2 separate regions of the Homo sapiens genome follow, and region 2 is linked to region 1. The links are contacts of gene promoters, found by promoter capture Hi-C in human tissues and cell types (Jung and others, 2019). All regions are on one chromosome and are shown on one strand. Each heading gives the region's core, a stretch centred on a gene start or on the middle of the fragment in contact. The rest is flanking DNA. Distances are from core to core; before and after follow the strand shown.

Evidence for each region. The method cuts DNA at HindIII sites, captures the fragments that hold promoters and counts their contacts. A contact is called where the count stands out against the background at its distance.
Region 2: a fragment that was not itself captured here is called in contact with the fragment with the promoter of CLEC14A in region 1 in 2 of the 25 tissues and cell types used here (IMR-90 fibroblasts and mesenchymal stem cells).

Annotation. Positions count from the first base shown.
Region 1 is chr14:38,253,567-38,258,528 of GRCh38, forward strand. CLEC14A (C-type lectin domain containing 14A) reads right to left here and starts at 2,527. Exons shown (of 1, transcript NM_175060.3): 1 at 434-2,527. The coding sequence starts at 2,456. The coding sequence ends at 984. It overlaps LOC112268136 (a long non-coding RNA gene), which reads left to right and starts at 2,479. Exons shown (of 5, transcript NR_169588.1): 1 at 2,479-2,879. RefSeq lists an enhancer at 1,709-2,336. The HindIII fragment of the contact is 7,223 bases long and covers 1-4,962 here.
Region 2 is chr14:38,504,806-38,510,191 of GRCh38, forward strand. No RefSeq gene overlaps it. Among named protein-coding and RNA genes, the nearest start is that of CLEC14A, 250 kb to the left of the region's middle. The HindIII fragment of the contact is 7,274 bases long and covers 1-5,386 here.

The DNA of each region.
Region 1 (4,962 bases), core at 1,277-3,776:
AAATGCACAAGAACTTAGCAACTTTGGAGGAAAACCAGCTTACTTTTTCTTTGATGCAACCAGAAGATTGCAAATCAATACTTAGCATTAACATTTTAATTGAGAATTAACATCACCATAATTGAAGATGAGGATGAGCATCTTGATGTTCAGGAGAGGGCTATTTGCTTGGGGAGGTCATTACGCTGGAAAGCACAAACACTGGAAAGGGAAAACGCAAATTATGTGTTTTCCTTGGGCATGGACATAAAGTAAACACTTGAACTGGTGGTCAACTGTAATTTTCTTCCAGAGCCAGCAATTCTGGCAACACTACACTTTCGATTTATAGCAAAGCACACAAGTAGCAGTGACTTTGAAAAGAAAGGATAAAAGAATCAATGAAAAAGTTACTAGTTCTTAAAGATCTGTGTCTCATTCGAGGAACTTAAGGACCTCTCCCTCAATCTAAAAGCAGAATGCACTCTTGCTGCTTACTCCCAGCATGCCCTCAGCTGTTCCTAATTACTCCTGGAGGAAGGCAATGATATTTGAGTCTGGGTTATCAACAATCCTTTAATTTTTTATTTTTATTTTTTTCCCTGGGATTTCGAACCAATATACTCCTAGCCTGAACAACATAGAACATTTCCTTTCCATTTTGGTAGAAATTATTTTTTAATGTAAATTATATTGTGTTCTATTTGTTTCCAATGTCTTGAAAAGTTCAATCACTTCTCCAAATTCTCCGAATAAACATAAGAAAATATCTCTCCCCAGCACTACCCGGTCCCCCAGTATCACCATCCTAAAGGCACTTCCACTTCCTCTATCATCAGGGAAGGAGTGTGCAGTTCTGATTTAGCTCCTCAGTGGAGTAAAGGGAATTTAGAGGAAGGGGGATTTCTGCAGAAATTGTCAGTTACACAAGTAAGTTCCTCTTGGTTCCCCGTTTCATCAAAAGTGAAAAACTGTTCACAGGAGTGCCCATGTCCCCTGTTTCCCTATGCATCACTAGAGCCAAGAGGGGACTCCGCCAGCAAGGCACCCTCTGCTCTGTCCCGCAGATCACAGTCCCCGACTTTCACCCCATTGTTTGTGCAATGTGCAGAACTGGAGCCCAAAGCAGCGGGCTCAGGATCACTCTCCAGGCCCGGCGGGCCCATAGACTCCTTCCTTGGCTGGGAAGAGGGGCTTTCGTGAAAGCAGAGCTTGACAAGCCCCAGTACTGTCATGGTCAAGATCACCAACACTACTACTGCTGTGCTCACAAATATGAAGACCACGGCAGAGGAGGAGTCGAAAGCCTGAGGAGTGGCAGAGGAAGTCGTAGAATTAAACTTGGAAATCACGCTCCCTGATGGGGTGATAGTGGCCTTTGACTCGGCTTGAAGGGACATTTGAAGGGTAGACATCGTGCTCTGTGATCCCCATCGAGGAATCTCAGGAATAGATGTTACTGAATTGTCTTGTTCAGGGACAAGTGGTGTCTCTCCCAGCTTCTCGTCGACCCTGATTGGCCATGTTCTCTGCGGCACGGGGCTGGTTGCAGTGGCCGGCGGGCGCCTGGTGGGCACCCCGGTCCCCCCAAGGGTCGGCTGTCCTTCCCCACTGGTCACACAAGAGCGGCCGTCCTTCCCCAGCTCGAAGCCCGTAGCACATTCGCAGGCAAAGCCTCCCAAGTCGTCTAGGCAGTTAGGGAGCTCTGCGCATTTGCCAGCACGGAGGTACCTCCCGGGGCAGGGACACAACACATCGCCCGAGAGTTTGTCCCAGCGAGCGCCGATTTCGTCCGCGATGCAAGTAACTGAGATCGGGAGCTGTCCCCGGCAGAGCGCACTCACCTCGGTCCCAGGTGGACTGAAGTCCAGAGCGGCGCTGTGCAGCTGGAAGGGCGCGCGATAGCTCAAGTTAGAGGCGGCCCCGGGGCGCGGCGCAGGACACAAGACCTCAAACTGGTACTTGCACAGGTAGCCGTTGGCGCGCAGGTGGCATCGCATCTCCTTCCAGCCTGCGGGCTCGACCCCACCGGTGGCCTGGAGTACCGCGCATCTCCGCGCGGTGCAGGAGCGTTGGGGCTCCTCCACCCACTGCAGCGTGTCGCTTTCGAGACCGCCGGGGTCGGAGGACAGCCAGGAGAAACCCCGCAAAGGCTCGTTCTCCAGGGTGCAGTGGGAACGCCTGCGCTCCAGTGCGACCCAGAACAGCAGGTCTTTGGAGCCCCCTCCGGGCCCTGGGCCTGCCCGCAGGAGCGCGAGCACAGCGCGCAGCTCGGCGCCCGCACGCACGGTGCTGAGCGCCCCACCTCGCAGGATGCAGGCCTCCTCGGCCGCCTGCCGCTTCATGGTAGCGTGGTGCAGGCTGTAGCAGGCCCCCGAGGCCGAGCAGCCAGCACGGTCGGCAGTGGGGTGTTCGCCGCCGCCCGGCCCGGGCCAGAGCGCCTGCCAGAGGAGGCACAGGGCGAACGCCGGCCTCATTCTCTGAGGCCCCGCACGCAGAGCTGCTCCCAACTTGGATCTGTCCCGCTCGAGGACGCAGAGCTGTGTCTGGAGCGCGGTCACCGCCCTCTACAGCTGGCTTCCCCAACCCGGTTCCCCCTCCCTTCCCCTCCGCCCTCGCTCCCGACGGACCCCCCAACTGCCAAGAATCCCCCCGCGGGCCCAGCGGCCAACAGTTTCCCTTAGGCCGCGACAGGAAATGTGTGCGGAGCGCTGCCAGGCCCGGTGCAGCCCTGAGTTATTCTGGGGTCAGGAACACAGCTGGCGCCGGGTACAGGGGACGCAGTCGACTAGAAGGTCAAACACCCTGCTTAGAGCAAGAGGAGAAATTCGCCACTGGGATGAAGTGTGTGGTTTTTCTCCGTTCAGGGAGTTTCATCAGGACCGCAGAACCCATAACACGTAAGCGAACATAGGCAGGAAGGACTTGAGAAAGGAACTGGCTTATGATTATAAGACCACGCCCGTCTATTGTGTTTCTGTCCGGAGCTGTGGAGTTAGCGTCAGAATAATTCGTAGACGGCTCCAGTGTTTGGGGGGCCTGTGCCTGTGGGGGAAAAATATGTTGTGAAACAACTTAGCAACTGCTTTTGCCACCAGAGGCAGCACTATTTAACCGCATATCTCTCTATGGGTCTTTGCTTCTCTATTATGTCAAGAGATTTCAGGAGTCCTAACTACTAAAGAATTTGGAGTTGTTTGGGTATTTTAAATGGGAAATTCTGCTTCTTCCATCAGCACTTGCTTTAGAAATTTATTTTTCACTTCCACGTGTTTCTCTTTGAGTTAGACCATATTGATTCATTACAGAAAGGAAATGTATTTCTAGGACTAAATGAAAAATAATGACCATAGATCTTAACAGTTAGGTTGTTAGCTTTCCTTGCCACTGTATTGGTTCAAAAATTCTTCAAGTTTATAGGTTATACATAAATGAGTTCGTGGCCTTATAAATATTCGAGAACAACTGCCCTATGTGTGATTTTAGCCTTGAACTATTTTAGTATCATTTTCTCCTATGATTGAGTGGCAGCATTTATAATAGTAAGTTGTAAACATCTCCTTTAAGGAAAATTAGAGTTCCTTAAGAAATTAAAATGTTTATTCCATTATAATGAATATTGTATACTGTCAAAAAATATCTTGTAATTTGAAAGATGGGTGAGCCAATTTCTTTAGAATTCCAGTGGGTGTTTTGTTTTAATATAAACATTTCAACTCAGTGGGAAGTGGCAAGGAATTAAAGATGAATAAAGAAGTAAAGGTTAAAAACTGTACTGTTATGAAAGGATTTCTTGTTAGCAACTTAGACAATTCAGTATCAGTTTAGAAAACGTACATTCTATCTTGGTTCATAATGGCCAAATACGTTGCCATCAGAAATACATAGAGAGTTTCAGCTAAGCCCTCTTAGAGATGTCTGATGCTTTTAAATATCTTTAATCAGAATGAAAGTTGCCATTCCATGGATAATGCATATAAGCTCACTTTGTTTTACTGCATTCAGGTTGATGAGGGGTGGGAGGGAAGGTTTCAGGATCACATCTGTATGCTTCCATCTTATTTTTACCATAACTCTCATTCTTCTTTCCTCCTGGAAATTCCATGTATCTTAACAAACAACAGTAAGCCTATGAGTCATCATCATACTTACCTTGCTTTTGCTGAGTATGGAGCTTTGCACTAGGATTTCTCTCCTGCCCTATTTCCCAATTTAAAGAACATTCCTTAGTCCTTCCTTCAGATGTCTGAGAATCACCTTAAACGTGGCTTTGCGTTTAAATTAGGTAACTTAGTGTCTTATAAGAAAGAAACATGAAAATCCAGAAATCAAATTGAATGGTTTTTAAAAAATACTTAGTCACTTGGGCCAGCTCTCTATAGACCATTGCAATCTTATGACTGTGTTTGTAAATGTGTCCATGTAGTGCAATATTTTTAATAAAATCTTTTTCAAACTTAAGTAGTCAATGGAAATTTCTTAGATAGCTTTAAAAATCGTTTGGGATGAGATGAGGTGTCTACAGTAAGAAAGAATGAATAGCTGGAAAGCTTAAGTAAATACATGATCTCACTCCCTGACATTCTGTCTAGGGGAGTGGGATTATAGCAGAGAACACATTGGCCATAACGACTATATGAGAGTACTGACCATGACCATGACCATATCATGGAATGACACAAGAGTTAGAAAAAATTAGCTCAAAGTAGGACGTAAATAGTTTTGTAATTAGTTTGAAATAGACAGTTTATCTGACCAAATTAGAAATGGAGGAAAGTTTCTATTTTTTAATAATATTTATTAAGATAATAATATAGAACCATTTTACCCCCACTGGATTCCAAATGCCTAAAAATCTTATAATACCAAATGTGAATCTATTGGCTCTTTTACATGTTACAGATTAGAGCAACCACTTTGGAAAAATTTGACACTTTTTTTCACTAAAATTGAATATTTGCAAACTCTAGCACTTCCATGATA
Region 2 (5,386 bases), core at 1,561-4,060, 250 kb after region 1:
AACAAATTTTATATGTCTAGTTCACCCTAGTAAGGCTAGCAAGTATCTTCGTTTAGAGAACTGAAATTTGTTTCACATTTAAATCAAGAGACAAGTAACATAAGGAAATATTTCACAGAAACATAAAATTTCTTAAGAGTTTGGGGCGCAACTTTTTCCCTTATTTTATGCTTCTAAACATTAATTATTACAGGGCATTCATATTGAAATACACAACAGGACAAGATGAACTATGTTTAGGCTTCTTAGAAATACATTTGCTTTCATTAAAGAACCACATTCTTCTTCTATCTTAACCTTAAGTCATCTTGTCACATTGTTAAATTAAGACATTTCCTAAATATTTTAGTGTCAAATAAAACCATCGCCCTCATTAGCTTGAGGAAATGGAAAAGATCAAATTGATGAGAAGTGTCAAGAGTTCTCAGTTTTCCATTTTGATTGTGGCAAATAGCCCAGCTCCATGCTAGTCATTAATAGCAAAAGCAAACTTACAATGCTTATGTTCACACACATACCAGTATTAGAGAGTGTGTGTGTGTGTGTGTCTGTGTGATGCTGTTGATGTTTTGAACTCTCCCTTAGGCATCTGGTATTCAAGCTTTCTCAGCATTTTTTACTTGAGAAGAAATCATTTTGGGAAAGCATTAAAAACACAGCAAATATCAGTGTAACATAAACAACATTCTTAATCCTACAGCAATGTGATTTGGCCCTGGACACCTGCTCTCCAAAAAAAATAAACTGAGATTACATTTTATTTTGAATCCACCAAAATATATTTTTATGTCATTTGCTTAGTAATGGACTAAATATGCAAATCCTTGAGGTATTCATTTCCCTACTTCAATACCAACAATAAAATAAAATCCCTTGATCCAGGCAGCAAATGTTAATAAACTTCTCATACGTGGTAATTATTGCTGACCACAAAATTCCAGTCCTAGCAGCATCCCAGTAAACAAAAAGTGTTACTAGGCCTATGGAAGAGGATAAATTCTACTGAATAATCATGCAAGAAGGAGATAAGATTGAATACGGAGGAAAAGGGAGTTCTAACAATACATGGGACTTACATTTTAAGGAAAGGTTAGACAAAAGCATGAGGGCATAACTAATAAATCATTTTGAATTTTATGACTCAAAGTTTGGCTTACAAACTGTATGCTGGAATTGCATTTCCCCACTTCTTTGATGAGGACAAATCTCTTTTTAACTGCAGTGAACATTCAGCAGCTCAACGTATGGCATGATCATTAAATCAATGAGCCAGCTTTTAGAAGCAGCCTTATGATAATGAGCCACTCACAGTTATCTCCCTTTGTAGTACTCAGCCATCATTTTCTTTTACTTTGCTCTTCTGACCTCAGCATCAGTACTTTATTTTACTACTACAAAGAAGATATTTTGAGAGCCAATTTAACCTTTAGCTGCACATTCTCCAACTATGATTTTACCCCAGAATGTCAAAGAATGTTCTTAAAGAAGAAAGCTGAAAGAATAAAACTTCTTGTTCTGTGTTCAACATTTTTCACTGACACTAGATCCTTCATTTGCATAAGTTCTTAGATAACCAAAACAATCAACAAATATTTATTATGCGTCAGCTTTACACAAGGCACTGAGGTAGCTACAGAGGGTACACAGATGAACAAATCACATTCTAACCATCTAAAAGCTTAACAGTTGTCCCTCAGTATCCACAGGAGACTGTTTCCAGGACCCCCACAAATTCCGAAATCCACAGATGCTCAAGGCCTCTATGAAAATGATGTAGTAATTGCATATAATCTATGCACATCCCCCCATATATTTTAAATCATCTCTGGATTGCTTATAACAGCTAATACAATATAAATACTGTGTAAATTGTTGTTCTACTGCATTTTTATTTGTATTCCTACTGTTGTATTGTTATTTATTTATTAAAATATTTTTGATCCTTGGTTGGTTGGATCTGCAGATGCATAGGACCCAAATGTACTATAATTCGAGAATGGCAAATATGTAGCAGACATGCCATTATTCACATCTCCTGGGCCAGTGCAGATATTTCTAATAAATGTGAGTATAATATCCTGCTGATCTCCAGGGTTACCTCGGAGTCCTTCTCAATGCTTGCAATCAGCATCCAAGATGAAATTTATCTACTACGGATGATCCAAATGAAGACATTGGATAGCTATTAAAGAAAACAACTGACATATAGTATAAGGTGTACTTTTAATGAATGACAGAAATTAAGTGCCATAGAATGGCAAAGGAAGAATCACCCACTAAGGATGGAAAAAGGAATTTTTCCAAAGGATTTAGGACCTCTGTCATGTGGCTTCAAAAGACAAATTGAATTTAGCTAGAGAAAATGAAGGAAAATAGTTCAGATAAGAAGAATGGCAACAAAGACAGAGGCAATAATGAGCAAAACAAGCTTAGGGAATAGTTGAGGGCGGGTTAGCTTGACTAGAGCAAAGATTTATGTGGAGAATAGCAGTAAATACAATTAGAAAGGAAGTTTGGGAGTCAATTGCAAAGGTCCCCAAATGCCATGCTTGGGTGCTTGAGCTTTTATCTACTTATTCAATCCTAACTTGAATTGACTAAAATCCAAAGTAGCTATAATTGGGTTGATAGCTCAAGATACCCAAAATAGAGTTTGAGGTACTTGTTCTCCACTGATCCCTCAGCAGCTCCAGTTTCAGCCCTTCTCTACTTTGTTCTGTGTCACAGAATGCTAAGCTCTTTGGAATGTAACCTAGGCTCTTTCTTGCCCTCCAACTTCTAAATGGTTTCAGTAAAGGTGCCAAGAGAAGATCAGAAGGCAGGATGAGAATGCAAGTGTTTATTAAAACCCCCACACCCTCTCTGCTAGGCTGTGATTTTGGCAGTGGCTTGGTTCCTCTATATAAGGTGGCCTCTCATCTACCACTGTATTAGTTTGTTTTCATGCTGCTATGAAGAAATACCCAAAACTAGGTAATGAATAAAGGAAAGAGGTTTAATTGACTCACATTTCCACAGGACTAGAGAAGCCTCAGGACACTTATAATCATGGTGGAAGAAGAAGCAAATACATCCTTCGTCATGTGGTGGGAGGAAGAAGTGCCCAGCAGAGGGAGGAAAACCCTTTATAAAACCATCAGATCTTGTGATAACTCACTCACTATCAGAAGAACAGCACGAGGGTAACCGTCCCCATGATTCAATTACCTCCCACCAGGTTCTCCCATGACATGGGGGGATTGTGGGAACTATAATTCAAAAGGAGATTTAGGTGAGGACACAGCCAAACTATATTATTCCACCCCTGGCCCCTCCCAAATCTCATCCTCACATTTCAAAACATAATCATGACTTTCCAACAGTCCCCGAAAGTCTTAGCTCACTCCAGCATTTACCCAAAAGTCCAAGTCCAAAGTTTCACCTGAGACAAGGCAAGATCCTTCCACCTACGAGCTTGTAAAATCAAAAGCAAGTTAGTTACTTCCTACATACAGTTGGGGTACAGGCACTGGGTAAATACACCCATTCCAAATGGGAGAAATCAGTCAAAACAAGGGGGCTATAGGCCCATGAAAGTCCAAAATCCAGTAGGGCAATTATTAAACCTTAAAGTTTCAAAATAATATCCTTTGACTTCATGTCTCACATCCAGGTCATGCTGATCTAAGAGATGGGCCCCCACAGCCTTGAGCAGCTCCATTCCTGTGGCTTTGCATGGTACAGCCCCATCCTGGCTGCTTTCACAGGCTGGTGTTGGGTGTCTAAGGCTTTTCCAAGCCCACTGTGCAAGCTGGCAGTGGATGTACCATTCTGGGGTCTGGAGGAAGGTAGCGTTCTTCTCACAGCTCAACTAGGCAGTGCCCCAGAGGAGACTCTGTGTGGGTGCTCCAACTGATATTTCCCTTCCACACTGCCCCAGTAGAGGTTCTCAATTAAGGTTCCACCCCTGCAGCAAACTTGTGCCTGGACACCCAAATGTTTCCATACATCCTCTGAAATCCAGGCAGAGGTTCCCAAACCTCAATTCTTGACTTTGGTGTACCTGCAGGCCCAATACCATGCAAAAGCTGCCAAGGCATAGAACTTGCACCCTCTGAAGCAACAGCCTGAGCTGTATGATGGCCCATTTTAGCCACAGCTGGAGCTGAAACAGCTAGGATGCAGGGCACCAGGTCCTGAGGCTGCACAGAGCATTGAGGCCCCCAGCCCAGGAAACCATTTTTCTCTCCTAGGCTCTGGACATGTGATGGGAGAGGCTGCTGTGAAGGTATCTGACATAACCTGGAGACATTTTCCCCATGGTCTTGGGAATTAACATTAGGCTCCTTGCTACTTATGCAAATTTCTGCAGCCAGCTTGAATTTCTCCCCAGAAAATGGGTTTTTCTTTTCTATCACATTGTCAGGCTACAAATTTTCCAAAGTTTTATGTTTTTTATGTTCTGCTGCTTCTTGAACACTTTGCCACTAAGAAATTTCTTCCACCAGCTACCCTAAATCATCTCTCTCAAGTTCAAAGTTCCACAAATCTCTAGTACAGTGGCAAAATGCCACCCGTCTCTTTGTTAAAGCATAGCAAGAATCACCTTTATTCCAGTTCCCAAGAAGTTCCTCATCTCATGTGAGATCACCTTAGCTGGACTTCATCGTCCATATCATTATCAGCAATTTGGTCGAAGCCACTCAACAAGTCTCTCGGAAGTTCCAAACTTTCCCACATTTTTCTGTCTTCTTCTGAGCTCTCCAGACTGTTCCAACCTCTGCCTGTTACCTAGCTCTAAAGCTGCTTCCACATTTTTGGGTATCCTTATAGCAGCACCCCACTACCTCCCAGTACCAATTTACTATAGTAGTCTGTTCTTATGCTGCTATGAGGAAATACCCGAGACTGGGTAATTTATAAAGGAAAGAGGCTTAATTGACTTGCAGTACCGCAGGAATGAGGAGGCCTCAGGAAACTTGGAATCATGGTGGAAGGGGAAGCAAATACATCCTTCTTCACCTGGCAACAGGAACGATAGTGCCTAGCAAAGGGGGAAAAGCCCTTTATAAAACATCAGATCTCATGATAACTTACTCAATATCATGAGAAAAGCATGGGGGGTAACCACACCTGTGATTCAATTACGTCCCACAGGGTCCCTTCCACGACATGTGGGGATTATGGGAACTACAATTCAAGATAAGATATGGGTGAGGACACATCCAAACAATATCAGCCACTAGATCTCTCACCAAGTTTCAATAATTCTCCTCCCTCTCCTTGCCCTTTTAGGCATAGAACTGGTAACAGCACCTTGTTGCTAATTGCTAGGTACTGAGGACTAAGCTCTGATTTTCTACCTTGCCCAAATTCCTACCTAGGGGGTCTAGGGAGTCATACCCTA